Regions from separate parts of the Homo sapiens genome. Here regions 2, 3, 4 and 5 are each linked to region 1. Evidence: promoter capture Hi-C in 16 types of primary human blood cells and fetal thymus (Javierre and others, 2016). All regions are on one chromosome and are shown on one strand. Each heading gives the region's core, a stretch centred on a gene start or on the middle of the fragment in contact. The rest is flanking DNA. Distances are from core to core; before and after follow the strand shown. Region 1 holds the start of LEKR1 (leucine, glutamate and lysine rich 1). Region 2 overlaps LINC00880 (long intergenic non-protein coding RNA 880). Region 3 overlaps LOC101928236 (a long non-coding RNA gene). Region 4 overlaps KCNAB1 (potassium voltage-gated channel subfamily A regulatory beta subunit 1). Region 5 overlaps LINC00880 (long intergenic non-protein coding RNA 880).

Region 1 (4,115 bases), core at 1,113-3,612:
GCAGATATTTTACTTTTAACAGATTTTCTTTTTCTAATAAAAGCCATTCAATATAAAGGTCAGTCACTACTTTCATAAAACCAGAGGATAAATGGAGGAGCACTTTGGGTTTTTTGTTTTTTTTTTTAAATCCTTCCCTCACGAGTAAGGGCTGTTTATACATATCTAAGAAGTCAGGAGAAGGGCGAGGGCAGTGGCAGCAGAGTCAGATGATACAGGCACAATTCCATAGCAGGGAAGAAGGCATAGACAAGAGCAGTCTAAGAGTTCAAGAAAGGAAAAGATCTTATGTTTCAGATGAGAGGTGGGAGTTAGTGAAGGCTTCCTGAGGTTGCTTGTATTCAATCAGGGCAGGATTTTGACAAGAGACTGGAGAAGCAAAGTACTCTATCAGAGAGAGCAACCCCGGCCATACAGCAAGGTAGCAGGGAAACCGTAGTTGTCAAAAAGTCCTATAGTGGCATTATCTTTGTAAATGGTGCAACCACTAGTGGAAGAGAAGATTCCTTGTTCCCTGTGTTAGCACAAAGACTCATTTCAGTGAGTTGCTGTTTAAAACCAAAAACTAATGAGCTTTATGTCTTCCCACATAAAACATAATATGACATGTGTGGTAAAGTTAACTGAGGTCTGCAATGGAGGTACCATTAACCATGTCAACATAAGCCCAAACATAATCTGATGTTTGGCAGATTGTCATAATCATGTGGCAAGAGCCCAGAAGGCTCATTATTCTCATTTCTGTCATTTAATGGTGGATTTGCCATCAGTAAAATGAAATAGTAACTTCAACTCTATTGGGAGAATTTTCCAAAAAATTACCATCTAAACATCCTTTTAAAATTTCACCCATAAAGTTATCTGAGAGCACGGATCTAAATGACAGTATAAACAAAGCACCAGTAGAACAGTTTTTGTGTAGTGCCTTCATTGTCTGTGAATCTATTCCAACTTTATGGCCTTAGCATAAGAAGGGGAGGAATTGGCAGGTTCTGATTATCGGGGGGAAACTAAAAATTAAAAGTCCTGCCAACCCAGAAAATGCTCCACAATGCAGAAAGACAACAATTTTATTAGGCATTCAACTAGACTTTGATGCACATCACGGCTAATCTGCTAATGAGGTTACAAAGAGAGAAGGAAATCCCTCTTTTATACAGCCAAGGAGACACAATCCATTACACATTCTCAAGGAAACTGGTAACGTGTCCTCATGTAAGAGGGCTTAACATAGTGTTCTATACATTCTTTTATATTTCCTCTTTAATTCATCTGGTAATTGGGGTAACCACCTGTGTTAGCTAACGGCTTTCCTCCTAAGTAATGCACAGCTCCATAACGAAACAGGTGTTTACAATTAGGAATAACGCACCTAGGTTAAACTCCCAAAGTGACAAGGAGACTGGGGCCCTATCTTCCTTGATGTTTACATTTTAAAGAAATGGCTTCCAGGTCCTCAAGAAAAGCATTCCTAGGTCTTTAAAAACATTTGCATACATATTAAATAGAGGAAGCATTCACAAATACTAAGTTTCTCAAGAAAAAAGAAGGGTCTTTCCCTTTTGGCAACAGGGAAAATCTGTAATTTTTTAAATTTAGTCTTACATAGTTTTGCGTGTGTTATCAAACAAGTCCCTTTAATCCTTTCTCATTGCACGTATGTGGACCGCACTTTGGCAAGAGGTGCAGTGATAAGTGGCTGCAGCTACGTGGGTGTTTGTGAACCTCCTCTCTAACAAGATCACCGAAAAGACATTTTTTAAAATGCAGACACGTCCTTGTTCGTTTCCAATTCCGTTTCTCACACTAGTGTCACGTCAGGCCATTAACTCACGTTCAGCTTTCAAGCCCTTACGTAAAGAACCATTCCCATGGCGTGAATCACCCACAACGAGCAGGTCAGGGGCAGGTGAAGGCGGGAGTTCACATCCTAAGACTTTCCTGAAGCGGCAGGCTCTTCCACACAGAAACCAACCGCAAGGCCAGACAAAACTGCTGGAATGGCTTTCAAATCTGTCCCTTTCTAACCCCGTTCCCCCTGGACCTGCAGTGGCCGGAAGAGGAGGAGGAGGAGGGTGCGGGGGTGAGGAAGCAGAGCCGCGCGTTCCCCGGGGCTGGGAGGAAGGCGGACCGCGCCTGGGCCCCGCGGGCTGGCAGACACCAGGAAGGGGCCGCAGAGGAGCGTGGTGGCGGAGTCCAGACCCGGGGCCTCGTGCTCTCGCTGGGGCGCCGCGGCTCAGCTTTCTGGCTCTCTCCCCGGGTGCGAGCACGCCTCCACTCCGGAACTGCATTTGGAGGACCGGGTCATCCCAGGCTGAGGAAAGCCATCGTCCCTCACCTCGACTTCGACTAGGACGGGTGTGAAACGGCTTTCCCGGTCTCCCGGGCGACCGCGCCGCCAGTCGGCTGGACGTCAGGGCGCGGCGACGTCACGGCCCACGTCTGTCGTCAACGCTCCCCTGCACCGCCCAGGGTCTCACGCGCCGGGCGGAAGTGGGAAAACTGGTGGTGGGGCTCGGAAGGCTGGGCTAGTCTTACGCGGAATGCTGTGAGAGGGAGGGAAGGGGATCGAGGGATGAGGTGGGCGAGAGTGGGTCGGGTGCTTGGTAGCGACTGCTGAGATGGAGGGAGCTGTCCCAGCCTCGTGGGGGGTTGGAGAGAGGCACTGCCGGGAGTCGGGAGTCGGGAGCCTATAGCCCTACCTATCACCCCTTGCTCTGGGGCCTATGTGGTAGACACAGCAGTGAGCAGTTACTGTTCTTGAGCAGAGGAAAAAGAGATGCCTGTAGAGGTCATGGGTGTAAAGGGAAGTTCTGGTTTCAGTCATTACAGCCAGGACAAATTAATTGGGAAGGCGTTGGTGACATTTCCATTCTAGTCCAAAGTAGTGAAGATTAAGGGCTTAGTTCAAAAAGTATTTTGAGACCTCCTAGTCTACACTTTATTTATCGCAGGCTACCCACCCTTACACGTGACTAACTTCCCTTTGTTCATACATTCATTCATAAAACAAGTATTTATAGACCTACTACGCGACAAGCAGAGCAGCATACCGAGATAGGGTGATACTCTGTGACTGGTCAAGGCAGGAGCAGCCATTGGTGTAATTAGCAGGTGACTCATTCGTAGTCCAGATCTTGCCTTTCTGAGGATTATATAAGGTCGAAGTACAGTTCTTCCAAGAACCAAAGAAAACATCGATGGCTCTGTAGCAGGCAAAGAGACTGGTTTGCTATTGAATAAAATAAGATTAAGTAAATACAAAGAAAATTAATTGAACCTATAGATTTAGAGAAGTGATTAAATGACGCAGAGCAGTATCGGTACACCAAACTGCTTATTGATAACTACTAATTAATGACACCAGGAAGTACTGAACACTAGTGCCTTGTTCCTTGGCACTAAAAAGTCTAGTAGATGTGGCTGGGCGCGGTGGCTCGGGCCTGTAATTCCAGCACTTTGGGAGGCCAAGGCGGGCAGATCACAAGGTCAGGAGATCGAGATCATCCTGGCTAACACGGTGAAACCCCGTCTCTACTAAAAATACAAAAAAGTAGCCGGGCGTGGTGGCGGGCGCCTGTAGTCCCAGCTACTTGGGCTACTCGGGAGGCTGAGGCAGGAGAATGGCGTGAACCTGGGAGGCAGAGCTTACCCTGAGCCGAGATAATGCCACTGCACTCCAGCCTGGGCGACAGACCAAGACTCAGTCTCAAAAAAAAAAAAAAAAAAAAAAGTCTAGTAGATGTATCTTGTACATTTAACCTGACTGATATTTTTGCCCCAATGCCTACCCTTGATTTTCTGTTTCCACTCCCTCAAAGAAGAAAGGATTAAGAGGCCTAGAGGACAGTCAACCAAGTGGTCAACTATAACATGCTTATGAGAAGCCCAAATAACTTTCAGAGCTATTCATCCTCGTCATATTTATCTGAGAGATAGTGAGGGTAGGACTGCTCTCATTTTGTGATAATGGAAGTTTAGATACAGGGCACCAAAACTGGTACCTATCTGGGACAGGAATTTGCACACCTAATGCAAGATCACTCTGTTCTGAGGCTAGTTTTCTTTATTGAGTACTTTGTTTATAGGATAAGGAAAGGCAACACTTTAAGGAT
Region 2 (3,981 bases), core at 1,389-3,888, 270 kb before region 1:
TTCACACGTTGTTCCTGTCAAGGAGGAGACATTCTTACTCTCTTGTCAAAGTTGGAGTTGCCAAAGAAAGCAAAGTGGTTAGAATGTGTCAAACTTTGGCATTTGTATTAAACAGAGTTTGAGGAAACCAGGCAGGTTTGACTGAGAATCTCTTCCTTGTCTTCCATCCAGTGCAAGATAGGCCACATTTTTACAGAGAACTGTCAAAAAAGAAAGTTCACATTAGAGTCACTCAGCTCCACGTGGGTCCTCTGGTGGCATCTCTCTCAGTGTCAAATCCTAATTGTTAGGACTCCATGAATCCTGAGTACTTCAATGATTTAAGAACTCTTCCGAAGCTGGTAATTTGGAAATTGCATTGTTAGTAAATATGAATTAATAAAAAAGCAAAGTCAAGAATTTTACTGGCAATGAAACTATGTTTACTGGTCATCTCTTAATTCCATTTGAATTCCACAGGCCATAAACTGTGGTATATTGCAAAATACCCTGAAGTCAGACGTGGATTCACATCCTAGATTTGCTGCTTATTAATTGTGTGACTTTAGCCGTTACTTAGCCTCTCTGAGTGTCCATTTCCTCAGCTGTCAAAGTGGGAATGATACCATTTCCCAAATTGTATTGCAGTGAATATAACAAGAGATCATGAGTGTGAGAGATGCTAGTACAGAGGCTGGCCCATAAATGCTCATGTCTTTTCCTGTCTGTTGTTTTTTTCTGTAACTTAAATGAGCATCATTTCTAGCTAACTAATGTTTTAATGTTGACACATTTCAGTAGATGGTTTTCTATACTTTTAGAATGTCATAAATGATTCTCCAAGAAGTAGAAATGACTAGGATACAAACCCTGAGACCAGCAGTTGCCAAAGTCACAAGAGGTGATTTGTATGGTCCAGACAGTGATGCAGGAGCAAAGCCTCCGTTTTGACTTTCAGAGATTTGGGAGCAGTGAGGTGCAGTGCCCTTTGGAAAGGTCAGTAGAAATGCTCTGTGAAATGTGAAAAGGTGGGTGCCAGCTCAAGGGGTGCCAGGTGAGGTCCCACTGGAAACCTGCCTCCTCCATCCCTGCCTCCCTGTCCTCAGCAGCACCCTTTCATTTTCTAGTTAGATCGGCTCAGGTCCCAGCTGACTCCTTCTGGATGTCCAGCCACAGACATTTGTCTTTGTCTCCAGCACTTTGAGTCAGAACCACAGGTTTTCGTATTTGCTGTGGTTTTTTTTTTTTTCTGTCATTATTGTATTTGTTTTGGTCTTAGTTTTCTACCAGACTTTAATGGAAAGAGACCAGGTTTGAGTCCAGCTGCACCCCTTATTAGCTGGGTTATTAAGGACAAGTCACTTCACCTCTTTGAAATGCAATCTTCTGATTTATATGTGGGGATCCTACATTATTAAGTTGTTGCAAGAGCTAACGTGACTAAAATTCACATTGAAGTATTTTGTAAACTGTAAAGTGCTGAGAAGAAAAGATAATTTCAAACCCCTCTTAGCATGTATACTTTACTGGAACATATACATGCTCAAAGATATGTGTTAAGTTACTTTTTGATTAAAGATATTTGCTACAAGAATGTTGTCCAATCCCCAAACACACCAGGAGATGTTCTGAGCATTCTGCAATGGTTCCAGTGGGTTCCCTGGATGGTTTGTGAGGGAATTTGCCATTTACTGTGTATTTGCCATGTCCAGGCTCATGCTTGGGAACATCCTGTTTGATTCCCATGAGGTAGGTATTAGCCAAGTTTCCCCCACCAGGTGTGATGGTTAATTTTGTGTCGACCACACTGGGTTAAGGGGCATCCAGATAGATGATAAAACAATATTTCTGGGTTGTCTGTGAGGGTGTTTCTGGAAGACATTAGCATTTGAATCAGTGGACTAAGTATAGATCACCCCCACCAATGCAGGTGGGCAGCATCCAACTGGCCCTCAGCCTCCACAAAAATGTGGAGGAAAGGTGAATTTGCTCTCCCTTCTGGAGCCAGGACGTTATCTTCTTTCGCTTCCAACACCAGAATTCAAGGTTCTTGGGCCTTCCAACTCTGGGACTTACATAAGCTGCATTCTCTACATAAGCTGTCACCTGCGTTCTCAGACCTTGGGCCTCTGACTGGGAGTTACAGCATCGGCTCCCCTGGTTCTGGGGCTTTCAGTATCAGACTGAATTATACCCCCACCTGTCCTGGTTCTCCAGCTTGCAGACTGCATAACATGGAATTTCTCGAGCCAATTGCATGAGCCAATTCCCGTAATAGATCCCCTTCTACATATCTGTATATGTCCTATTGGTTCTGTTTCTCTAGAGAACCCTGTGTGATACACTACGCATGCACAAATAAAGTCACATCAAGACTAATAATCTAAATGTTAGTTTGTTACCACCATTTCTCACTTTGAACCTAGCTCCCTGCAAAGCACCTTCTACCCTGCACTTTTGGGGAGTTCCTGGGGTAGGAGGTCTTACATGTGCTCATCAGCAAATCAATGCCCAGGCACTGTCCCTTACTCTGCTCTGCCATCTCACTCTGGTAAAGTTGCTCTGTGGATTGTCAGGTGGAAAAGTTGCCTTTTTCTCTCTTATGTTCATTTATAGGAGTTTCATCTCAGTGACCCTGTACTCCAGTGTCTTATGAAGCACTAACAAATAGTCCCTTTAGCTTTTAGTGACAACTCTGCCCAGGAATGAGACATGGGTCTGATATGGGGTAGGGTGAAGGATGGGGTTCCGCCCCTGTTACCACAGTGTACTCAAAACTACTCCTTTCTCCAGTATGATGCTTCACCTTTTGGTGAGCCCACTGTGCGCAGCTCCCTGCATTTCCTCAAGAAGGGAGTTTTCCCAGATCCCTGTAGGGTTTCCCTGCTAGTCCACTAGATGTGACGGAATCCTAGCACAGACTCCAGATTGCACATTCCCACTATACAGATGAGGAAACGAAGGCTCAGAGGGTAAAGAAACTTACCCAAGGTCACACACTGAACAGGTGACAGTCAAGAGCCAAACTCAAAGTCCAAATCCCACATTCTTTCTGACCAAAATCCTGTGATCAAAGTGGCAACATGACACGTTGTTGTGACCCTGGTATTCATACAGGAGGGCAAACTGCGCTGGTCACTCTTTACTAGACATGCTTTTCTCCTCCCCAGGGGTTTGTTTAAGTCTGTTTCTGCTTGGTTTCCACTGAGAATTATACTCTGGGCACGAAAAACGGGGATTCCTTGCCATTTCACCTTCCTTCCCATTCCTAGCTGCCCTCCCAGGGAACTGACAGTTTATTTCATTGTTATTTGGCTTATGGTTAAAAGAACTGTGGTGGGGCCAGGCACGGGTGGCTCATACCTATAATCCCAGAACTTTGGGAGGCCAGGGAGGGCAGATCACAAGGTCAGGAGTTCGAGACTAGCCTGGCCAATATGGTGAAACCCCATCTTTACTAAAAATACAAAAATTAGCCAGGTGTGATGGCGCACGCCTGTAGTCCCAACTACTCGGGAGGCTGAGCCAGAAGAATCGCTTGAACCAGGGAGCTGGAAGTTGCAGTGAGTGGAGATCATGCCACTGCATTCCAGCCTGGGTGACAGAGTGAGACTCCATCCCACCCACCCCCCCTCCAAAGAAAAAGGAAAAGAAAAGAACTGTGGTGCTTACACAGATGACAGAACAAGCAAGTCCTGGCTACTGCAAAGATACACCTGAGCCAGTGTTAGTAGATCTGAGAAAAACACATATTCCTTGACTTGATTCCAAAGCCCCTGTAACCTGGTCATCCTATACCAACCCTCTGTTCCAGCCTAAAGGTCTACACATGACCCTAAGTTCTCTTTTCTCCCCTCCCAGCTGTAGCCTGATGCCCATGAAAGATGGGGCCTGTACCCCATGTGCTCACTCCTCCTAGCCCATTCCAGCGATGTGGCATCTATGCTCCATTCTGATTCTCTTGGTCAGGGCCTTGACCTTCTCTCTTGGCCTTGCCAAATC
Region 3 (4,094 bases), core at 148-2,647, 370 kb before region 1:
AGGAGCTGGGACTACAGGCATGCACCACCATGCCTGGTAATTTTTTGTATTTTTAGTAGATATGGGATTTCACCATGTTGGTTAGGATGGTCTTGAGCTCCTGGCTTCAAGTGATCCACCTGCCTCGGCCTCCCAAAGTACTGGGATTACAGGTGTGAGCCACTGTGCCCAGCTTACGGGTACTATTTGATGGCATACTAGTCAAACCAAGCAACAACTCTGTTTTATAGCCATATAAGCAGATGACCCTGGAATAAAAGCTGGGACTTACGCACATTTCAAGCTGTTAAACATTTTTTATCATATTCCAATTTCGTTTCACTCTGAAAGCAGAAGTGGCTATCATATGATTGACTCAAAACTATTTGGTATATCACCCTAAGATAAATACCAGAAGGCACCAAAACTGTTTTGAATGAGGACTAAAGATGACATTTGGCCACTAGATGGCATTTAAATTATGTAGCAGGCTTTAGCTCACACTTCAGCTATTTAAAAGCTTAATTGGTTTGCATTTAGCCCAAGCACTGGCGATTCATGTATTTTCATGCTGTGGGAATTCTCGGAAGTTGGCTGAATTGAGACTTAGGAATATCCACAGCAGGTTTTACAGTGACAGACATAAAATCCTTTTGGAGTTATGAAATGAGATTAGCAATTTTAAATTCTTGCCTGAAATCTTCAGATCAGTTTTTTTCTTTTTGGAAGTAAATTATTGAGGGTAATATTGAGAGACTGGATAACTTACATCTTTTCAATCCATTTCTGTGCAACATGAAGTCTTAATAAGCACAGAGCAGCATAATTCATGGGCAGCTTGTCTCAGTTGGCCACGGGTACCTCTCAGCGTCTACCTTTTTACTGGGTCCAGCAATCTAATCATATCTACCATTTCCTTTTCAATTAATTCCTAGGAAAGACCAGCCGTGGACTAGTACAACATCCCAGAGGCGAACAGAATCAAATCTAATCCCCACTGAATAATAATTTGTTAAAAAACTGCTATAAAGAAGGGAGAACAGTCCAGTCAGTTATTGTTTTTCATTTCCCACAAGGAAATTAACGGTAAAACATGTTAAATTTCAACTGTAAGATTTTAAGGTAGCCATGAAGATGAAATGAAATAGATACTAAAGTAAACCACAAAATAAATGTGCATGTGTGTTCTTTCCATATAGTAGAAGAGATACTCTTCTATTTGGCGAGATTTTGCAGAGACACCAAGAATATAGTAAGTGATGCTTTCTAACTCTTTTTGTAGGTTTCAGGGGGCTTTCTTTTGGTCAAAGCCTATGGTGCTGAATTCAGCTTGTCCACTAGGCAACCCTAATATATGCTAAGTATCCTTTAACTAGTCAAGCATTTATTCCCATGATAAAATAAACTATGATGTATTTAATTATACATGTCATTGAAGAAGTCCTCTTTTAAAGAAAAACCATGAAGTGATTACCTGAAAAGCATAATAACAAATTGATTACCTAATAAGATGGAAAACTGAACATGAGCTTTTGTCTCCACTCCATTCCAACGCTCTCTCAAAAGATAGAAGAGGAAAGTAAAAGTTATAAATCCACACAGAAATAAAGAGTGGAAGAAGAGCCGGGCGCGGTGGCTCATGCCTGTAATCCCAGCACTTTGGAGGCCGAGGCGGGTGGATCACGAGGTCAGGAGATCGAGACCATCCTGGCTAACACAGTGAAACCCTGCCTCTACTAAAAATGCAAAAAATTAGCTGGGCGTGGTGGCACACGCCTGTACTCCCAGCTACTTGGGAGACTGAGGCAGGAGAATCACTTGAACCCGGGAGGTGGAGGTTGCAATGAGCCGAGATCATGCCACTGCACTCCAGCCTGGCAACAGAGCAAGACTCTGTCTCAAAAAAAAAAAAAAAGAGTGGAAGAAGAAAACAACAGCAGACCAGATCACAGTTTCAGGAGGTTGGCAGCCACTGGCTGAGTGGGACTGACTAGGAAAACACTGAAACCCACACAACAACAGAGGGGAGACCAGCAAGAAGCCAGCCTACCTCACCTCAGAACCCTGGGAGTCAGACATCAAAAGTTCTTCCAGGTGCCTGGAAAAGTAGGAGCCAGGGTGAACTGAAAAGAGAATAAAAATTGGGGTAATCTGCATACTGGCCTGCAAGACCTCCCAGCCTTTTTCCCCTTCATTTCCCAGAAATCTGCTCCCTACAAAACTGGCGATGAAAAGATCCTACTATGACACTAACATTTGGCAAGGCTGCCAGAAATTGGCTCGCTCCTTGCTTGCTAATCCTCCAGGGAAGCTTACTATTCACCAGGCTTTCCCACTTCCCACCACAATCAGCTTTCCATCCTCAGTCTTAAATATAAACAGACAACCAAAGATCAACGACATTATAGGAAAGCCTCCAACTTTCCTATATAGGAAAGCCTCCAACTTTCCTATATAGGAAAGCCTCCAACTTTCCTATATAGGAAAGCCTCCAACTTTCCTATATAGGAAAGCCTCCAACTTTCCTATATAGGAAAGCCTCTTGGTATAAGAGGCATATACCAAGGCAAAAAAATGTGGATGGGGGAACTTAGAGGAACCAGAGACAAAAGAAGAAAATTTCAAAGAAACTGCAATTAGTATCCTCTGAAAAAGAAGAAAAGCTGTTGGACCCATGAAACATTAAAAAGGTGCTATCAGGAAGGGTTTGTTGTTGTTTTTGTTGTTTTAGAGACAAGGTCTTGCTATGTTTCCCAGCCTGGCCTTGAATTCCTAGGCTCAAGAGATCTTCTGAGCCTCCTGAGTAGCTTGGACTACAGGCATGTGCCACTGTGCCCAGGTTTTTGTTGTTGTTTGTTTGTTTTGTTTTGTTTTGTTTCATTTTGTTTTGTTTCATTTTGTTTTGCTTTTTTGAGACGGAGTCTCACTCTGTCGCCCAGGCTGGAGTTCAGTGGTGCAATCTCGGCTCACTACAACCTCCGCCTCACGGGTTCAAGTGATTCTTCTGGCTCAGCCTTCCAAGTAGCTGGGACTACAGGCACGCACCACCACGCCTGGCTAATTTTTGTATTTTTAGTAGAGATGGGGTTTCACCATATTGGCCAGGCTAGTCTGGAACTCCTGACCTTATGATCCACCCGCCTTGGCCTCCCAAAGTGCTGGGATTACAGGTGTGAGCCACCACGCCCAGGCTTTTTTTAAAAAAAAAAAAAAAAAAAAAAACAAAAGAAACAGAGAATGAGAAGGAACTCTTGGAAATTAAAAATATAACAAGAATGAAAACTTCAGTAGAAAGATTAGAAGACAGCTGGGTATGGTGGTTTATACCTATAATCCCAACAGTTTGGGAGGCCAAGGCAGGTAGATTGCTCAAGCCCAGGAGTTTGAGACCAGACTGGGCAACATGGCAAAATACAGTTTCTACAAAAAAGACAAAAATTAGCCAGATGTGGTGGCACACGTCTGTAGTCCCAACTACTTGGGAGGCTGAGGTGGGAGGATCACCTGAGCCCAGAAGGCAGAGGTTGCAGTGAGCTGAGATTGCACCACTGCACTCCAGCCTGGGCCAGGCCACAGAGTTAGACAGTGTCTAAAAAAAAAAAAAAAAAAAAAAAAAAAAAAAAAAAAAAAAAAAAAAAAAAATATGGTTAGAAGAAAAGTTTCAGAAAGTCTCAAAAAAAGCAGAAGGAGAAAATAGAAAAATGATGGAAATATTTAGGAGGTAAATCCAGGATCCTCAACATTAGACTAAAGAGGATCTGGAAAAATAAATGAGAATAAATCAAATGTTCTTGTATTATTAAAGAAATAATACAAGAACATTATTTCTTTAATAATACAAAAATATTTCCCCCAAACTGAAAGAAATAAGTTTCCAAATTGAAAGCATCAACCTAGTACCCAGCTTCCTGAATTAAAATTAAAAAAAATGACCGAAGGCATACCACTGCACAATTTTAGAACATGAGGGATACATAATCCTAAAAACCTTCAGAGGGAAGAGGGAAAGGTTATAGACATGAAACAAGTAATAAGAATGTACTGGGGCCGGGCATGGTGGCTCATGTCTGTAATCCCAGCACTTTGGGAGGCAGAGGCAGGCAGATCACCTGTGG
Region 4 (3,735 bases), core at 621-3,120, 310 kb after region 1:
ATCATATTGAACTGTCTTGCTACAGAATAGGCTTCCTAGGGAGGAATGAGATTACAACCAAATTTATACTGATGAGAAATAAGGCTTCGCTGTAATTTGTATGCATGAGAAATGTTTACTTTGGTGAAATCAGTACAAACCAAGAAACATGTAGGATGCCAAATAATAAGCAAATTTGTCACCACCGATTTCACTAAGAGCAATATGAAAGGTAGGAAACCCTTATTAATTCTTTGGGAGGGTTTGGATTGAGTTAAGTCCAGAGCAAATTAGTCAAGGTGTGAATTGTACACTACGATAAAGAAAATGTAGTTTAACTATTTTTAAGTTCCTAAAGAAATAAGACTTAGACTAACATATAAAAGTATCTGTAATTAGCTTGGTATAAACAGTATAGTTAATACAGTTTTTTATAAGAAAACTAGAATACTCTGTTAATATATCTCATTAGCTGTGAAATTCACTTTACCCTCTTGCCACCAAAGAACACTGTATTCTCTGTTGTATTCTGAACGGATGAGCTCCGGCTCCAATATCCATCTCTGTAATGATGGAATTGATTCTAGAATTCCAGTGCCATAGTGATTGTGAGAAAAGTTTGCAAAAGATCTTGCAATTTATGCATGGCATCTGAAAAGCAATAATAAGGTACTCAATAGCCATTTAAAAATAGAAGTTAAATTACCATGATCTCCATAGCACTCCATCTCGAGGTGCCCCAGTACATCGCCATGCCTTGGTTTATCACATGTGTCATGGCTCGGACAATTTCTGTGGAAGGTCAAACAGACAGCATTTCATGAATTTGTCTACTTTTCAAAGTTATGCGATTTTTACTCCTCTAGCCAAAGCTTAGAAGCTTAATGCAATTGTTTGTTTGATTAATAAAATTAGCCTAATATTGGTGACAACATTATAGTCTGACAGGAAATATTGATGGTTTGAAGGCTGATGGTACCTTTGGGCAAACTGACATTCCATTTTCCATTTGCAGCAACAACACTAAATGATATTGAAAATATAATGACCATTTTAAGTTCTTCCTTTACTTTTATTGCTTGATGATTCCTGGCCTAATAAAGAATACATGATTTACCTTTTTAAGAGCCTGAGTACCTTCCCGACTAAAGTGAGAAGTAAGAGAAGGCATTTGTTTCAACTTTGTAGAATGTAAGGTCATTGAAGGTGAAAGGCTTGTCTTTGTATATTGGACTTGCAGAGCTGGACCTCACACAGAATGGGTCTCTAAGAGAGGTGACTCAACAACAATGTGTTTAGCAGAAAGATAAACATATTAAATGCTGAACAAACAGCCGAAGTCACCGTGGCTCACAGCTTGCAATGACACACCCTGTCCTTGATCACTTTGAACCAAATTTTGTCCTAAGACACCCACATAATTGATTTCACTGGGGCCTGTTTGTGGTCCCACCCAGCGTGCTCATCAGCCTCATGGAGCTCGACATCACATTTCCTAAACAGGAAAATGAATCCCTTCCCCAGAGGATGGAGCTGAGCAAATCCTCTTGGCACCAGCCAGATGTGCTGCAGAACAAGAGAGCATGGAGACCCTCAAGTTTAACTTAGTTAAAATTCACAGACAGGGTTGGATTTCTTCTACAAAGCAGGTCAGTGTTTAACAGGATGCCAGGTCACTCGACAGTTTCAAAGGGTCACAGGCCTTGGGATTTTTTATTTCTCAGTAATACCAGTCAGTTAAATGCCCTTCAGAAGAACCAAATCCTTGTCTCAAAGTAGAGTTGCAGTAGATGTATTTTTTTATTATTATTATTATTTCTCATGAGCAGGCACTGTCTAGATTGATACGGAACAGGATTTGGAATGAAATGGCCAGAGTCAGGGTCTTAGCTTCTTTGCTTGTTTGGCTGGTGTAAACTTTTTTGTTGTTGTTGTTTTTTTTTTGAGATGGAGTCTTGCCCTTTGGCCCAGGCTGGAGTGCAGTGGCAAGATCTCGGCTCCCTGCAGGCTCCGCCTCCCGGGTTCATGCCATTCTCCTGCCTCAGCCTCCCGAGTAGCTGGGACTACAGGTGCCCGCCACCACACCCGGCTAACTTTTTGTATTTTTGGTAGAGACAGGGTTTCACCGTGTTAGCCAGGATGGTCTCGATCTCCTGACCTCGTGATCCTCCCACCTCGGCCTCCCAAAGTACTGGGATTACAGGCGTGAGCCACTGCTCCCGTCCTTCTGTAAACTATTTTTAATTGCCCTTGATTTCTTTTTTGGAAGATGGAAATGCTTTCATTCACCATTGTGTGTCCAACAGAGGTAAAAGCTGGCTTATAAGCAAAATAGTTTTCTTTTTCTTGGAGAAAGACTCTAGAATATCAAATTATTGCCTAGCAACTAAAACTATGAAGTTCATTCTCCATTTATAAAACATATGATTAAAAAAGTGTAAGGAACCGCTTTTCTTCTCTTTCATTATACAAATGGAGATGCGTGCCTATGATAAACAGTTCCAGAAGTTGAAAACAATGATATGAATCTCTGCCCCAGATAGATTCTGTCTTTAGATGTCTCCATCACTGCACCAGCTCCCTTTCCCTTCACATCCTGTGTCATTCAGAGCTGGGAGTTCAGCCAATCAACAGTATCTACTAGGTGTCTGCTGTTCTGGGTGCTGGAGATACTGTGGTGAATCAAACATGCTGATAAACACAGAAGAGGTTAACAGAGAATAAACTGGACCTGGCCTCTCCCTTAACTCTGTCTCTGCCATCAAGTAAGACAGGCACAGAATGCTGACAGGTGGCTTGGGCACGTGGGAGTCCTTGACAAAAGCAGTGAAGATGGAGTGGAAGTTGTGACTCTTCCTGCACATGCATTTAATTATACAACACACAAGTATTAAAAGCTTAATGTTTGCCAGTCACTGTGCTGGTTGCTGGATTCTTCTGTGAGTAAAACAGACACAAATTTCCTGGACTCAGGGAGTTTCAAGTTGAGTGAGAGATGGAGGGGTAAACAAGTAAGTCATTATAAAATGTAAAGTGTTATAAAGAAAATAACACAGGGGACTGGGACAGGAAATGAAAGAGAAGACATATTTAGTGCAGTAAGGAAGGTCTCACTGAAGAGCAATCATGTTTAGGCATAAAAAAGAAAAAAGGAACCATCCTTGTGAAGAACAGTGGAAGAGCATTCGAGGCAGATGATGTAGTATGCGCCTAGGCCCTGAGGAAGGACAGAGCTTAGTGAGTCCCAGCAATGGGAGGGAAGGAGGACAGGGGTATGAGATGAAGTTGGCAGAGGGCAAACCATGTCATTTGTATGTTATTCAAGGTTTAATCAAGGCATTAACATTTTATCAGGTAAGGGGATGGTAGAATATAGTTTGCATTTCAGAACAGTCTCTGTGCTGTGGAGAATCATTAGTAACAGGGAGGACTGGAGGAAGTAGAAAGAGCTTGAGGAAGGTATTGTTGTATTCTAGGCAGGAGATGAGGGTGATTTGTAATAGGGTGATGATGGCAAACAGAGAGAGTGGTGGATGGATTCAAAATAGATGTTGAAGGCAGAATCCACAATACTTACAGATGGACTGAGTGTGGTCAGGGAAAGGGAGGAATTAAAGCTGTTTCCCAGATATCTGGCTGTTTACAGAGATAAGGGAGACTGAAGGAAGAACAGGTTTGGGAGAAAAATCGAGGGTTCTTCTTTGGACATGTGAAAAATGGAGATGCATGTGAGATACTAAAAGGGAGATGACGGGC
Region 5 (4,172 bases), core at 554-3,053, 290 kb before region 1:
GAAATTAGTTGCAAGGAATTTTTTATGTGAAGCAACATAATGAATATCTATGGCAATTTTACAGATAATTTAAAGCTGTTTTTCACCCGATCATTTCTTAAAATGACACTGGGTAAAGCTAAGGGGCATAATGCTAAATGATGTAAACAAACACTGTATTGAGTACCAAAGTGACTTAAGCCAGGAAGGGACTTCAGTGACTCCAGGGAGGAAAAAGTTTAGAGAACTGCAAAGTACCCTACATGCTATCCTTGCTGTTTTGGCAACATCTATACCCCTTTTAAAATGCAAAGATAAACTTTAAGAGCACCATTTAATAGCTCTTTAATGAAACTATGTTTAACCTGAGCAAGTTGTTGTGTATGCAAGATACTGGAAACGCCTTCTGTGGAAGGAAAGGCAAGTACAACTTTGTGCTTCTATTTGGATAAAAGGTTTTGAAGTGAAAGGCATTTGTGCAAATTACAAGCAGATTTTCAAGTCTAGAAAAACAAAAATCTCAACTGTGGATTAAGTTCTATTTTTTAACAAAAGTGAAATACTCTGCTTTAATTTCAGAAGTTAAAAAATCCTTTTTAACAACAGCAAAAAGGGGACCTGTTTTGAATTTAAAAGAAGTAGAGTGAGACAAGTTAGGAAAAAAAGAATTACCATTGCCTTTCTAAATTTATTATTATCATAATTGTCATTAAGTGTATTCGTCTTTCTTTAGGGTAAAGAGAGCTTTCCGATGGCCAAAATTTACTAGTCACTGAATTGTGTCCCAGGACACCCTTCAATAAAACTTGGCCTAAAGAAGCTTCAAGTTCCCTTCAAGTTCGAGGGCAGAGTCTGGGGTTCAGCCCAAGCCACTGGCATCCCTGAAGGGGCTGCAGGGCTCCTGACTCCAGGACCTCCTGGCATCCCGAATGCATGACCTCTCATGCCCGCCGCAGCACCTGCAATCTTGCCGGTGCTGCTTGGATTGCTGAGCAAACACTTGTTATTTGCGAAAGTACAAGGTTCAGTCTGTCAAACAGGGAAAACCAAACACCGAAGCACAGGAGCAGATAAGAGGGCCATGGTTGTGAGACCCACGCGGGCTCAGAGCGCGGCGGCGGGGCCCGGGCCTACCCGGCGCATGGGGGCTAAGGTGCAGCTAGGCAGGCCACGCGGCGCGGGCGGACGGCCTGGCCCGCGGAAACAGGCGCATAGGGCGGGAAAGTTCACCCGCCTTGCGGCGGCGACCGTTCTGGGTCGAACCGGCCATTGTAAGCCGCGCCGCTGGCGACCCGCCTGGGACCCCTTCGTGCCTTGGCCTTGGGGGGCCAAACACATCCCGAACGCCGTTCCCACCTTGCAGATTCTTGCAAGCTGCGGGTCCTACCTTGCTTCCCACGGGCTGATAACCCTGAACGTTCCCAGCGGGTAGAGGGCTTGCCACCTGCTGCTGAGCTGCGCTGCAGGCTTCCCCCGCCTCCTGCCGTAGGTCTAAGCCCAGAGACCAGAGGGGCCTTGGGCCTTGGCGCGCTGCCGCCGCCAGGGCACCGAGCGAGCCACTCTGCCTGACACTCATTTTTCTCTTCTGCAAAATGGGACTGACACCAACAATCACCTTCCTACCACCTCAGGGGGTTTTGAGGATCCCGTGAAATAACGGTGTGAAGATACTTTCAAAGTGGAAATCTCGGTTGTTACTAACTCATTTGTGAACCCCATTTTCTTCTTGATTTCTTCCTGACGTAGAATTGATCATCGTCACTGGGCTGTCTTAGCTACCCCTCCCTTGACTGTAATTTTAAATTTATCTGTGCATACCATTCCAAAAACAAACAAAAAAATCACGTGACCTGTGGTTTTATGTGTGAACAAAAGTTCTCTGAAAAGGAATTTAGAGGAAACAGACTTTATTACAATGAACAGTTTACAGACGAGGAAACATAGCCCTAAGTGTAAAATGAAGAGAACAAAGAGACAGTTTGGCGTTTACAGAGAAAATTCCTACCTGGGTTCCCAATCAGGTCCATTTATGCAAATGAACAATTCAAACTGGCTTGGTTCTGATTGATCAATGCAGCTGAGTCCTGATTGGTTGATGGGGAGCACAGCCTATTCCGTTGCTTCAGGCCACATGAGCGGTAACAGTCAGCTGTCAAAGCCCCAGTGTTAAGCCGACTGTGGGTTTTCCAGGAACTCAGAGTAGTGTGTAATCTCTAGTCAGTAAATGGCCGTTTGGCTCTATATTAAATTTATGTAGCCACTCAGGATTCATCTTGAGGGACTGGCTCTTTCAGATTCACTCATGTTTCAACTCTGCTGTTTATAAGTCCTCTATCTGTGTATACAGGCCTAGAGGTCCCAGGGCCGGATATAAAATTTCTCTGGACAGGGCCTGCTCCATAACCACCTTCACATGCTGTTCTTCAAACATATAGAATTGGGTTGATAGTGGAAACAATTTCAGGTACTTTAACCCAATTCTAAATATTCTAAATTTTAGGTATTTTAACCTTGGAATAATATAATTTTTTCTTCTTTTTTCTGTGTATAAAAAGACGTACATAGTTGATATGACACTATGTAATGTAACTCATAGATCACTATGTAATTTTGTACCTGCATTCATTCAGCATTTTAACATGAATTAATATTAATATTTTTCCATGTTAACTCTCTATGTAAAAACCATTTGCAATAAGCATTTTTCCATTTAGTAAGCTACCTCATATTTTATTAAATTGTTTTTCTACTGTTACACATAAGAGTTTTCTCCAGTTTTCCACTATAATAAATAATACTGCAGTGAACATCTTTCTTCCCAAAGCTTTTTTTGTTCTTTTTTTTCCTTGCTTTTGGTTTACCTCCTTAAAAGAATTCTGGGTCAAAGGTTATGAACATTTTTCAAAAGACCTTTGTTGTCATGATGGCAGAGAGGCAGCACTAAAATAGTTTGGAGCAATAGGGATTTCACCAAAATAGCTATGATTGATATCTGGAAAGAAAGACAGAGAAAATAATGGCATGGGAATCTTTCTAGAGTTTTAGGGCCTTGTTCTGATTTAAAAAAAAAAAAATATATATATATATATATATATATATATATGAAAGGAAAATAAATCTTCGGGCCCCCAAATCACTAAGGGAATAATCAAGCTGGGAACTGCTTAGGGCAAACCTGCTTCCCATTCTATTCAAAGTCACCCCTCTGCTCACTGAGATAAATGCATATCTGATTGCCTCCTTTGGAAAGGCTAATCAGAAACTCACAAGAATGAACCGTTTGTCTCTCAAGTATCTGTGACCTGGAAGCTCCCTCCCAGCTTCAAGTTGTGCCGCCTTTCCAGACAGAACCAATGTACAGCTTATATATATTGATTGACGTCTCATGTCTTCCTAAAATGTATAAAACCAAGCTGTGTTCTGACCAACTTGGACACATGTCATCAGGACCTCCTGAGGCTGTGTCATGGGCATGCATCCTCAACCTTGGCAAAATAAACTTTCTAAATTAACTGAGATCTGTCTCAGATATTTGGGGTTCACATATATATGAATATATGAAATAATTGTATATCTTAGAGTCCCATTCCTGGAAGTTTAAACAGCTGTACTCATAGCCCACACTTAAGTAGAAAGTTGGGAGAATATCTGACAGTATGGGTGACAACTGCTTACTCTAGGTGCAGATTGGGGCTTCTCAGGCAGCTATTGGCCCCAGGGTAATTAGCCTTCTGGTGACTACAGAAGTAGAAAGTAGAGATCTCCATCTACTTTACAGTTGAAGGCACTGAGTCTCAGCACACCCAGTTCAGTGGTTGTTAACTCTGGTTGCATAGTATAATCACTTAGGGTGATGAAAAGACATCCAGAAAAAAACATCCAGGATAGATCCTCAGATATTCTGATGTAATTGGTCTGAGGTGAGACCCAGGCATCATTACAATATGAAAGCTCCTTGGGTGATACTAATATGAATTAGGATTGAGAAGCTCTGGTATAGTGGGAAAAATATGGGCTTTGGAGTCACTAATATCTGATACAGCTCCCAGCTTTGCCATTTATTGGCCATGTCATTTTGAGTAAATTAATGACTACTCTCTGCTAAGGGTCCTCATTTTAAATCATAAAGTTGTCACAAGGGTTAAATGTAATAACATGCAAAGTGTTTTTCAAGGTTTCTGGAACATGGTTGG

Evidence for each region. Contacts are between HindIII fragments. The CHiCAGO score rates a contact against its expected background, and 5 or more counts as called.
Region 2: a fragment that was not itself captured here is called in contact with the fragment with the promoter of LEKR1 in region 1 in 9 of 17 cell types (non-activated CD4 T cells, naive CD8 T cells, activated CD4 T cells and 6 more); the score reaches 12.8 in non-activated CD4 T cells.
Region 3: a contact is called between a fragment that was not itself captured here and the fragment with the promoter of LEKR1 in region 1, in 2 of 17 cell types (activated CD4 T cells and naive CD4 T cells). The highest score is 6.0, in activated CD4 T cells.
Region 4: a contact is called between a fragment that was not itself captured here and the fragment with the promoter of LEKR1 in region 1, in 4 of 17 cell types (naive CD8 T cells, non-activated CD4 T cells, activated CD4 T cells and 1 more). The highest score is 6.9, in naive CD8 T cells.
Region 5: a contact is called between a fragment that was not itself captured here and the fragment with the promoter of LEKR1 in region 1, in 7 of 17 cell types (non-activated CD4 T cells, naive CD8 T cells, activated CD4 T cells and 4 more). The highest score is 9.5, in non-activated CD4 T cells.

Annotation. Positions count from the first base shown.
Region 1 is chr3:156,824,600-156,828,714 of GRCh38, reverse strand. It overlaps LEKR1 (leucine, glutamate and lysine rich 1), which reads right to left and starts at 2,362. Exons shown (of 13, transcript NM_001004316.3): 1 at 2,339-2,362. RefSeq lists a silencer at 1,221-1,515 and an enhancer at 1,830-1,889. The HindIII fragment of the contact is 11,302 bases long and covers 1-4,115 here.
Region 2 is chr3:157,095,516-157,099,496 of GRCh38, reverse strand. All of the region lies in intron 3 of LINC00880 (long intergenic non-protein coding RNA 880), which reads left to right. It overlaps LINC00881 (long intergenic non-protein coding RNA 881), which reads right to left. Exons shown (of 3, transcript NR_034008.1): 2 at 1-14. Among named protein-coding and RNA genes, the nearest start is that of LINC00881, 7.6 kb to the right of the region's middle. The HindIII fragment of the contact is 6,225 bases long and covers 1-3,981 here.
Region 3 is chr3:157,198,207-157,202,300 of GRCh38, reverse strand. The region is part of intron 2 of LOC101928236 (a long non-coding RNA gene); the gene reads right to left. Among named protein-coding and RNA genes, the nearest start is that of CCNL1, 40 kb to the right of the region's middle. RefSeq lists a silencer at 350-399. The HindIII fragment of the contact is 1,791 bases long and covers 502-2,292 here.
Region 4 is chr3:156,511,400-156,515,134 of GRCh38, reverse strand. It overlaps KCNAB1 (potassium voltage-gated channel subfamily A regulatory beta subunit 1), which reads right to left. Exons shown (of 14, transcript NM_172160.3): 9 at 686-771; 10 at 1-35. Among named protein-coding and RNA genes, the nearest start is that of SSR3, 42 kb to the left of the region's middle. The HindIII fragment of the contact is 2,017 bases long and covers 862-2,878 here.
Region 5 is chr3:157,117,541-157,121,712 of GRCh38, reverse strand. The region is part of intron 1 of LINC00880 (long intergenic non-protein coding RNA 880); the gene reads left to right. Among named protein-coding and RNA genes, the nearest start is that of LINC00880, 3.4 kb to the left of the region's middle. The HindIII fragment of the contact is 2,004 bases long and covers 802-2,805 here.